Regions from separate parts of the Homo sapiens genome. Here region 1 is linked to region 2. The links are contacts of gene promoters, found by promoter capture Hi-C in blood cells and fetal thymus (Javierre and others, 2016). All regions are on one chromosome and are shown on one strand. Each heading gives the region's core, a stretch centred on a gene start or on the middle of the fragment in contact. The rest is flanking DNA. Distances are from core to core; before and after follow the strand shown.

Region 1 (5,823 bases), core at 169-2,668, 190 kb before region 2:
GGGATATAGAGAGGGCTGGTTTTTGTTTGCCTTTGAGATGGGAGAAACAGCAGTACGGATGATGACAAGGATAAATGCAGTCATCAGAGGGAAAAGAGATGAAGGGGGGATTACTAGATCTATGTCCTTAAGCAAACAAGAGGCGATGGGATCTACCGCACACGTGGAGGGGCTGACCTTAATTAAAGTCCAAAGTATGTGGGCTGTGGAATCTCCCTTCCAATCGCAGTAGAACTCAATCCAGGCGGTCTCCGGATTTCTCCAGACCACCTCCACCTGGCGTTGTTCTGAGCTGGGCCACCGAAAGTTGAGATTACTGAATGTGTGTGTCTCCCATTAACCCGTAAGCCCTCCAAAGGCTGCATCTAAGTCGCCTCTGAATTATTCACATTCCTCCAAACTCTGGGCCACAGCCCCGCAATATGGGCTTATTGAATTAGCCCAAAGAGACACAAAGCAGCCTCTACGCAGCTGGTTTCACAAAGGGGGGCGGTCCTAACCCTGCGCTCTGGGATCCTGACGTTCGAGCTATCTCTCCTCCTCCCCTCTGCTCCCAGCTCTCCGCAGTCCAGCTTGTCGGCTGATCATCGTCCATAGAGGCCACCGTACCCGACGTTTGCGGACAGTGACAAAGAGTCAAGCTTGGTGGAGCCTGAGGACAGGACTGAATGACGATTGAACTGAGAGTTCAGGGGCGGAGTTTGAGGGCGAACTCGGGACAGAGACTGGATAGAGTTCAGGGAGGCGGGACCTAATGATGGCGCAGGGAGGGGATTGGGCTGAGGGCGGTGCCGGCGCGAGGATTGGGCCGAGCGCCTCGGGGGCGGTCCTTGAGGGGGCGGTGCCGTGTCGGAAGTCAAAGGTCAGTAAATAGTGGTGATGTCATGCAGGCAAGATGGCGGAAGGGTGAGCTTGTCGTTTTGCTCCTAGGCGTTGGGGCCTGAATTCTCCCAGGGTTGGGGTGCTGGGCGAGAGTCCCGGTGGGGAACGTGAGATCAGCGGGGGCGTGGACTGATCTGAAAGGGCAGAGTGGAGTCGCATTGTGAGGGGGTGGGCAAGCGGTCTGCGAAGCCTCGGCCCGCAGGGTACATCTGAGCGGGGAACAAACCGGATCCTTGGGCGGGCAGGAATCGCACCGCGGTGCTGCCAGATGTGTCTGTCTTCCACAGGGAGGACGTGGGATGGTGGCGGAGCTGGCTGCAGCAGAGCTACCAAGCAGTCAAAGAGAAGGTAAGCCGGGCCCGTGCCCTTCTTCCCTCAGCAGGGCCCTGCGCCGCCTCAATGCAACCTGGTCCAACCAGCCCCGCCCAACTTTTGCGGGCGCTAAGTCTCAAGGATGAGGCTGACCTGGGCCTTTCTTTTAGCCTCTACCGGTCCACGGGAAGACAGACCTCGACGCAAACCAGTGTGATACTAGCCACAGTGAAATAAAGATGGTTTTAAAGGCTGGAGTTAACGAACGTTTTGTAGGAATCCATAGGAAGGAGCAATTTATTCCAGCTCAGGAAATTCAGTTTCTTCGTGAAAGAGAGAGCATTTGATACAGGTCTTGAAGGAAAAGATTCTAGCAGTAAAAAAACTTACTCGTATAGTCATTCAAATATTAGAGTATATGCGACAACCAGCACTCTGATAGGTCTTGAGGATACAGACTTCAGCCAAACAGATGTAATCCTGGGCCTTACAAAGCTCACAGTCTAGTGGAGAGACAGCCATTAACCGAGTAGCCAAACAAATAGTTGTTTAGTTACCGTTGTGGTAAGTTCTGTGAAAGGAAAGTACAGGGGCACCTTGTCTGTTCTGGTTAGTCAGTAACTCACCAGGGAAGGCCCCTGTGGAGAAGGAACCTCATCAAGGGCAACCCTGCCTAGACAGGATGAAAAGCAAGAACCCAAGCCAGAGATGAGCATGAGCCATACACACTGGTGCCTGATGAGTTCTAAGTAGGGGCTATGCAACGGGCAGTAGAGAGAGAGAGATTAATCACCAGAGAGTGGAAGGCCTTCTTGCTGAACAATCTCTGTGGGATGAGTGATATTTGGCTGTGCCAGTGGGTAATTTGCCAATGTGTATTCCTGTTTCATTTCATGCTTATTTGTCAAAATCAGCCCAACTGAATTGTGGGAAAAGTTGATTACTATTTACCTCAAGCAATTGGGATGAGTCCTGCTTCAGGGCCAACTCCAGGAAGCTTCTGACCTCACCTAAATAAGTCCTCTACTCTGGGAGTATTTTTGTTTTGTTTTGAGACAGAGTCTCACTCTGTCACCTAGGCTGGAGTGCACAGGTGCGGTCTCAGCTCGCTGCAACCTCTGCCTCCCAGATTGAAGTGATTCTTGTGCCTCAGCCTCCCGAGTAGCTGGGATTACAGGCATGTGCCACTACTCCTGGCTAATTTTTGTATTTTTAGTAGAGACAGGGTTTCACCATGTTGGCCAGACTGGTCTCGAACTCCTCACCTCAGGTGAGCCACCTGCCTCAGCTTCCCAAAGTGCTGGGATTATAGGCGTGAGCCACCACACCCAGACATCTGGGAGCGTTTTTATTCCTCCCTTATCCTGGGTACTCCTGGACAGCCTCTCAGCAATAGCCCAGCAAATCTGAGAATGCCCTGAGCTGTTTATGTTGTTGATGAGGACTGAGAGGCTTGCACCCTAACATTTGATAGAAGAGACCCGATAGTAGCATATTTCCTGTTGGGTAATTTCCTGGCAGGAAAGTCTGACATTCATTCAGCAGATGTTGCATGAGGGCCTCCTGTGTTTGTCTCAAGGTTGGTCTTATCATAACTTATGAAAAATAGATAGTTGGCCAACCTTCCGTCTTCATTCTTGGAATTCCCAGTTAAAAGCTGGGGTGGGGGTGGAGGTGGGAGTTGTTTATGCCTTTTTGGAAAGAAAAGACGTAATTTCCCTTTTTTTACTTTCTTACTCTTATATGTACTTGGGCAAGTGTTTTTTGTTTTTTGTTTGTTTGTTTTTGAGACCAAGTCTGGCTCTGTTACCAGGCTGGAGTGCAGTGGCTCAGTCTCAGCTCTGCAACTTCCGCCTCCTGAGTTCAAGTGATTCTCCTGCCTCGGCCTCCTGAGTAGCTGGGATTACAGGCATGTGCCACCACGCCCAGCTAATTTTTCTATTTTCAATAGAGACAGGGTTTCACCATGTTGGCCAGGCTGGTCTCAAACTCCTGACCTCAGGTGATCCGCCTGCCTCGGCCTCCCAAAGTGCTAGGATTACAGGTGTGAGCCACCACGCCTGGCCTCTTGGGCAAGTTTTTAACCTCTCTAGGCCTCAGTTCCTCATCTATAAAATGGGAATACTAACAATACCTACTTGATGAGATTGTGGTGATGGTTAAATGTTAATATATGTAAAACACTAAGAACAGTACCTAGCATACAGTAAGTGCTATATAAGCATTAGCTGTTATTAAGTGCTGAGGCTGATGGGAAAACCTCTTAGATACCACCCCCAGTTCGTTTTTCCTTCCATTTTTTTTCTTGGTCTTTTGGTGCTTTCCTATCTGTATGTCCCATTCTGGCTCCATCTGGACCACTCACTTCTCAGCACTCCTTAGAACACATTGCCCTGAAGACCACAGCTATGAGATGGTGCTATCATCTGCTTTCCTCTGCTCCTTACCTCCTCCTGTCCTGTCTTCCTGTGTGTTGTCAAGGGCAATATGACTGACACAAATACGTGTGCATACACGTTGATAGAGAAAGGCATATCATTGCTCTACATACTTACCAGAAAGAAGAAATTAAAAAGAGAAAGGCACCAAATGCTTTTTGGTTCCATCACAGATTCCCCAACCTCATCTGGGCCCACATACTCTTCAGTCTCCAATTTGCTTCTCCTCCCCTTAACTTCAGAAACTTTCCCAAAACCTAACTCTTCCCTGGGGTCCCCTATTCAGCCGCTTTATCCCTTTCACTTCCAGGAGACAACCTCATCTACTTTTTGAAACTTCAGGTGAACAAACAGGATCTTTAACTCTCTCCCCACCCTCAAAGCCACCACCTATAAACTTATCTTTACTCAGTCAGCTTTACCTACTGCTTGCCAAATCCAGTGGGTGGTTTTCAGCCCTTATCTTCCTGGACCATTCTGCTGCATTTGACGCTAGTGATCACTCCCTCTCTTGAAACGCTACTCTCTTGGCATTTGTGACATGATTCTTAAGTCTCCACATACTTCTCCAGACGTTGCTTTTGTAACTGTCTCATGAGTTCCTCTTCCTCTGCTTGCCCCCTACAGGTAGTGTCTGAGGACACTTGTCCTCAGCCCATTGCTCTGTCCACTTTCCAAACTCTTCCTGGGTCACCTTCTCCACTTTCCTGTTAGGGCGACTCTTAGACCTTTTGCCTGAACTTTAGTGTTGTGTTTTGCTTTGTTTTGAGATGGGCTCTCACTTTGTCACCCAAGCTGAAGTGCAGTGATGCAAACATGGTTCTCTGCAACCTCCACTTCCTGGATTCAAGCAATCCTCCCACCTCAGGCCCCCAAGTAGCTGGGACTATAGGCGTGTACCATCACGCCCAACTAATTTTTGTATTTTTTGTAGAGATGAGATCTCGCCATGTTGCCCAGGCTGGTCTCAAACCCCTAGGCTCAAGCAGTCTGCCCACCTTGGTCTCCCAAAGTGCTGGGACTACAGGCATGAGCCACCATGCCCGGCCAGCTTTAGTGTTTGAGGATAGCTATTGCTGGACAGCTATCCTAGACAGCCCACAGTCATCTCAAGTTCTGCGTGCCCAAAGTCATTGTTACCACCTTGTCTCTAGGACTGCTCCTCCTCCAGGATTTTCTCACTTAGCTGGCAGTACTGCATCTACGCAGTCACCTATTTTAGCAGCCTGTGGTGCTTCCATGATTCTTTTCTAGCCCTCAGTCAACATACCTGTTCAGTCACCAAATCCACCTTCTTCCATCTCCTGTATCTTGAACCAGTCTCATCCTCTCCATCTTTACTAGCATTGTCCTTACTCACATTTTTCTATTTTCTTTCCTGGATTATTGCAGCAGCCTCCTGACTGGTCTTCCTTCTTCCTCTTCTAATCTTCTCGCCTCTGGACCTTTCCTCCATTCCAGTCACTGGAGTAATTTAGTGAAAAGGCAAATCTCATGTCCCACCCACTTCAAACCTTTGGTGGCTCCCCATCATCCATAGGGCTGACCAGGCTCTCCCTGGTTGCCCTTGGCAACCTCTCCAGCTTTATCCCTCACCACTCTTGCTTCACATTTTATGTCCATCAGGACTGTAATGCTTGTAGACGTCACTAAACCCATGTCAACACTTCTTAGCTGACTCCTGTTCTTTTTTTTTTTTTTTTTTGAGACAGGGTCTCACTCTGTTACCCAGACTGGAGTGCAGTGGCATGATCACAGCCCACTGCAGCCTCAACCACCCAGGCTCAGGTGATTCTCCCACCTCAGCCTCCTGGGTAGCTGGGACTATAGGCGTGTACCACCACTTCTGGCTAATTTTTTGTATTTGTGTGTGTGTGTGTGTGTGTGTGTGTGGAGACGGTTTTGCCATAGTGTCCAAACTGGTCTCAAATTCCTGGGCTCAAGCAATCCTCCTGCCTCGGCTTCCCAAAGTGCTGGGATTACAGGCATCAGCCACTGCACCTGGCCCACATCAATACTTCTTAACCAACTCCTGTTCATTCTTTAAGGGCCCATTCCAGGCTTCTGGTCACCACATCTTCCCAACCTCCCCATAGTACAGCAGCTACTGCTCTGCCCTTGCACATCAGCACTATCATGGGACCATTTTCCCCAGTAGACTGTGACCTGCTTGAGGGCAACGTATGTTCAT
Region 2 (5,354 bases), core at 1,951-4,450:
AGTTTATCTGTCTATCTGCACTAACTCATCTGCCCATCTACTTACTAGCATAAATGGGTAACTTTATGGTTCCCCTTGGGCACTGGGAAGGGGTGAGGAGGCGTGAAGAGGTCAAAAAGAAGTCTTTTCTGCTAATAACACAGCCAGAGCAGTGCCTGAAAGGGGGTCCCTGGGTTCCTGTCTGAGTGCCTCACTCATTTGTTTTATGACCCTGAATGAGTCACTTATCCTCCCTAGTCTTCAGCGTATATAGAGACAGCTACTCCCTTATTGCCACCAGGGCTGTCTTACCTCCTCCCAAAATATCTTTCTGCCCCTCTTCTTTTTTTTTGTTTTTTGAGACAGAGTCTCGCTCTGTTGCCCAGGCTGGAGTGCAGTGGTGTGATCTCGGCTCACTGCAACCTCGCCTCCTGGGTTCAAGTGATTCTCTTGCCTCAGCCTCCCAAGTTGCTGGCATTATGGGCGCCTGCCACTATGCCCTGCTAATTTTTTTTACTTTTAGTAGAGTTGGGGTTTCACCGTGTTGGCCAGGCTGGTCTTGAACTCCTGACCTCAGGTCATCTGCCTGTCTTGGCCTTCCACAGTGCTAGGATTACAGGCCTGAGCCACTGCCCCTAGCCCTCTTCTTTTTTTTTAATTAAAAAAAAAATTTTTTTTTTGTTTGAGACAGAGTCTCACTGTCACACAGGCTGGAGTGCAGTGGCACAATCTCGGTTCACTGCAACCTCTGCCTTCCAGGTTCAAGTGATTCTTGTGCCTCAGCCTCCCAAGTTGCTGGGATTATAGGCACCCACCATCACGCCTGGCTAACTTTTGTATTTTTAACAGAGATGAGGTTTCACCATGTTGACCAAGCTGGTCTCAAACTTCTGACCTCAGGTGATCTGCCTGCCTCAGCGTCCCCAAGTGCTGGGATTATAGGCTGAGCCACCATGCCCAGCCAACCCTCTTCTATTTAAAAACTCTTTTAAACAAAAACAAAAATACATAGAAAACAAAGCCAAACCAATAAACCAAAAAAACTGTCTTAAAATTTCCACTGCTCTCAGGATAAAATTGAATGCCCCTGCCAGCCTGGCCCTCCTGCCTTCCCAGTTGCCTTTCCTGCTACTCTCCCCACAGCCTTGAGCTTCATGCCCCTTAGGCAAGTGGTGTGCAAAACCAGGGGGAAACACAGTGGTCTTATCTGGAGCAACTGGAGAAAGAATACATTGTATTTAGTGGGGAACAAACATGGACACATTATAAGGCAGCATGCAAACTCCCAATCATAAAAAAAATTCAACAGAGAATTCAAATTGTGCCCCCAGGTATTTCCTCACCATTTCCTGTTCCCTGATACTCCAGGGCCCCCAAACCACCTGTGGTTCCTGAAACCTTTCAGGTAATAGCTTTCTTCCATATTTATACCAGGTAAGCCTCTCAGCGTGGAACATTCACTTTCTTGCAGAGTTGCTCACTCCCTCCTCTGAGGCGAATCCTCACGCTATGTGATCCCAGTGACCCACCTGGCCTTTTTGCCACACAGTTGAGGGTAGGGACTGGGTCTGAGTGAGCTCTGAGTTCTCAGGGGTCTGCTCCAGAAAGGCATCAATTATTGCTTAGGAACTAAAGGCGGAGGCCCCCCTTGCCTTCCTCTCTACAGTGCAACCCAGAGTTGGGGTCCCTCCTCCTTTCCTTCCCTTCTGTACCCACCTCTTGAACTTGGCCCGCTGCTTGGGGGATGGCAGATGAGGAAGTCCTAGGGCCAAGGAGCCGCTGTGGCTGGTAGGCACAGGGACCCTCCGTAGTGTGCCTGGGGCCTGGGCTGGCTGGGCCAGGCAGGGCTTGGGACTCCGTTTCTTCTTTTTGTCATCCATTGGGCGCTGGCTGGGCCTCAGGCCTAGGAGGGAAGCAACCCCACAAAGATAGCCAGGGGCAAAGTTAGCCCTTCACCCAGAAATCCCTGAGAGCTGCACCAAGGAAGGGCCCTGGGACCTTCCAGCTTGTCACCTCATCTATACGGTAGGGGCAGAGCCAGATGCCAGTGTCTGCTGCTGGGATCGTGGATGTACACTTGAAGGACCTTCTAAGGCCCAACCTAATTCCCCTTCTGCCTGAAAACCTAGGCCCCTCCTGAAAGGGTGGGACCAGTCACAACTATCTTGGCGCTACTGGGGCTTCCTGTCACGGTGGCTGGGGGGCGGGGCTGGCAGAGGAAATGTAGTGGGAGACAAGACGGAGGTGAGCTGCAGAAGCCCAGCCGAAGATTAGGGATGTCTTAACTAAACCCTATTCTATTTATCAGGGGCCTAAGCAGATGCTAACAAACCCTGTCAGCATGGGAGGGGGACAAGGTGCAGGTAGGGGCGCCTGGGAAAGCCCCAGCGTGTGGGTAATTGTAGGAGAAGCCGCAGCATACAGGGCAGGGTTCATTGTGGGTTTCCCCCACATAGACACCGGCATCCCTCCACTTCCACCCACCCCCAACCGAAAATATTAGGGACTCCCTATAGGTCCCGCGGGTGTGCTTTCAGCTGCTTCATTTTTCCCAGTCGGAAAGTCCCTGCTGGGCTTCAGCTGCAGCCAGGGTGGACTGGGTGGTTGGCCGCTGGCTGCCTGGGCCTCCGACAAAGGCTGCGCCTGTGGCTGGGCTGCTCCGAGGTCCCCGGTCCAGCAGCGCCCCCCAAGCCTCCGGTCGGCTGGGGTTCCCTCCTCTGGGGGTCTCATTCCAGGCTGCTGCTACCGAGCCTAACTTCGAATTCTGGGACTGGGGGGGTTGGGGGGGTGGGTGGCGCTTAAGCATTTACACTGACACATAGCTGGCTGCCACTGACGGGGTCTGCGGGTGTGGGGAGGGGAGATAGGAGCGCATCCTCTGCCTCTCCGTGCAGCAGCTTGACCCAATTAGGGACCTGATAGAAGAACTGGAGCCGGAGCCTGTGCTCCCCAGGAGCGGCTGGGGCGACCGGGGATCTATTTCCCAAGCCCGGGCTCCAAAGCCATGTGCCAAACTCATCGCTCAGCTCCGCAGCCGCGCTCGAAGACAGAGCGTCAGACCCGCGTCATTCCGCCCCCGCCCTCACTCCCTCAGGGGGCTACTGACCTGGAGGTTTGGGGTCTCGAGTGATGCTTCGGTGCAAGTTCCCTCCGCCCTCCGCCCTCTCCTCCCGGGAACACCACCGGGTGAAAGCTAAGCTGGAGGGAGTTCATTTGCATTTAAAGAGAAAGTGACCTTCTCCTTAGCGCGGTGGGGTGAGATGGGAGGAGCATCCCCGCGTATGCTAAGCAGTTCCTCTCACTCGACCTCACCTCCCCGCCTGAACCTAGGGGACCCTGTTGGTTGTGTGATGTCTATTTTAAAAAGATTTTCCCTTTCCCGGCAGTTTCAGAGAGAAGCTACAGTTCCTTACAAAATGGTGGTGGCTTTGTCAGAAAGGGGGTGGGGCGGGGGAGAGGAGAGACAGAGTGAGTGAGTGAGAGAGAGAGAATGTAAGCACAGAAGAAGCACAAGCAGCAACAGCAGCAGCATCAGGAAGACACTTCGAGCAAAGACAGCCATCAATGGAGTGAGTCCAGTGCCCTATTGAGCACTTTACATACATTTCATCCCCATAACAACCCTTAAGGAAGATACCAGTGTCATTCCCCATTCTACTGAAAGTAAGCAACAGTCTTTTGAGGGCAAAACCCCTCTCTCTACAATGCCAGACAGTTTTCTCTGGTAAGTGGTGGGGGCTGTATTTTGCCGCAGATGAAGTGACAGGAGTCCTCCCCACCCCCCAGGCCTAGGAGACAGGTGTGGGGAGCACCAGGTCATAAGGTAGACCACGCGATTCCCTGGCACCTGACTCCAGTCCTCAGGGAAACCTGAGCACCTGATGGAGGCTGACCCAGTGTGACTGCTGCTGCCTGCAGCCAGATCAATGGGGGCAGCTATTTAAAGCCCTGGCAGAGGCTCCTGGCGCAGGTCCCCAGAACAGCATCTGATACAACAGGAGAGAGGCTCATGTTTGGCCAGGCGGCTCAGCAGGCTCAAGTGAGCTGGCCCAGGGCAGTGCACACAGCCACCCAGCCCACCTTCCCCATCCCCGGGCAGGAGTGGCTTCCTGGGGTTGGGCCTCTTGGCTGATGTGGGGAGCCATGGGCACTGCTCCTGAGGGCACCTGCTCAGGGCTTCTTCCTGGGTACTTCCAACACTCAGAACACTCCACAAGGGTAAAGAGTAATTCCGAACTTTTTCAATAACCAGGGGCCCAGACTGGGGACAACAGAAATCCCTCTCCTTCCCCACCGGAGCTGCTAGAGTAGACAGTGGTAATGCTGCTGACAGAGGGAGCACCCCTGTGGTTCCCATCCTCAGCTGCTTCACTGGGGGGTCAGAAACCTCATTATTCTCAGAGCTGCTTTGCTTGGAATCTCCAAGAGTTGGGGCGGCACCCCCCCCACACCCTCCAGAGGATCTGCGACTAGAAATAACATGGCCAGCATGGAAAACATGTATCAGGACCCAGCTAGAAGGGTCAGAGGCTCTGCTGGGACTGTCACAGTCATTGTGGGCACATCTATTTGTGGAGGCCTGGAGGGAAGGGCAGGTGGGTTGTCTCTGCCATTTCCTGGGCATTCAGCACATATCATCCTTTGTGCCTGACCAACCCAGGACCCAGAGAGAACAGGGTGCTGGGTGAGGCCACCAGCAGCATGTCTCCCATATAGGAGTCCCATGCTTGAGGTGGGTAAATGGGGGGTGTAAAAACTGAACAGAGAATGTGCTCTCCTTAAGGAATGCATACAATTAGAGGCCCCTGTGAATTCCCTTGGGCAGGCCAGGGCTATAGGAGCCTACCCACAGCTCAGACCCAAATAGCAGTGATGAGTGTCCACCCCTCTTAACCTGGGCCTCAAATGGCCTATGCCTGGCTCCATGCCTTTTGCCTTACTGCTGGAGCCTATCAATTTCCTATTGAAACACCTTCAGTTGCCCCCCCTGCCCTCTGGATCTAGCCCACATTCCTTAACCTGGTACCCAGACTCTGGGCCCAGCCTCACCCCCTCTCCCAGTCCCATGGACCTGCTTCCCAGCTGTACCATTTAATCACTAAATGACGTTCATCTTCTACCTGCCCTGTGGTTCAGAAGGCCATTCCAGGTATCACCCCCTCACCTTGCTGAAGGGGGCAGGGGCCTCCTCTCTGCTCTCAGCACCATTGACCTGTCTATAGCTAAAAGTACCTTTTCCCTTCACTAGCCTGTGAGCCCCCAGGTCAGGGAAAACTTTTTTGTGTGTGTGTGATCCTCTCTGAGGCAAGGGTCTTGCCAACTTTGCCAAGGGCTCCACTCAGGCAGCTCAAGTGAATATGCCAGCATCCTGAGGC

Evidence for each region. The method cuts DNA at HindIII sites, captures the fragments that hold promoters and counts their contacts. A CHiCAGO score of 5 or more calls a contact.
Region 1: a fragment that was not itself captured here is called in contact with the fragment with the promoter of CCDC28B in region 2 in 15 of 17 cell types (non-activated CD4 T cells, naive CD4 T cells, total CD8 T cells and 12 more); the score reaches 20.1 in non-activated CD4 T cells.

The regions. Positions count from the first base shown.
Region 1 is chr1:32,389,487-32,395,309 of GRCh38, reverse strand. It overlaps BSDC1 (BSD domain containing 1), which reads left to right and starts at 869. Exons shown (of 11, transcript NM_018045.8): 1 at 869-906; 2 at 1,170-1,230. The coding sequence starts at 896. RefSeq lists enhancers at 484-563, 435-1,130, 854-1,143, 1,131-1,828. The HindIII fragment of the contact is 1,550 bases long and covers 644-2,193 here.
Region 2 is chr1:32,198,441-32,203,794 of GRCh38, reverse strand. CCDC28B (coiled-coil domain containing 28B) reads right to left here and starts at 3,200. Exons shown (of 6, transcript NM_024296.5): 1 at 3,086-3,200; 2 at 1,696-1,882. The coding sequence starts at 1,859. RefSeq lists enhancers at 1,834-2,354, 2,223-2,442, 2,355-2,874, 3,133-3,212, 3,425-3,982 and 2 more. The HindIII fragment of the contact is 8,664 bases long and covers 1-5,354 here.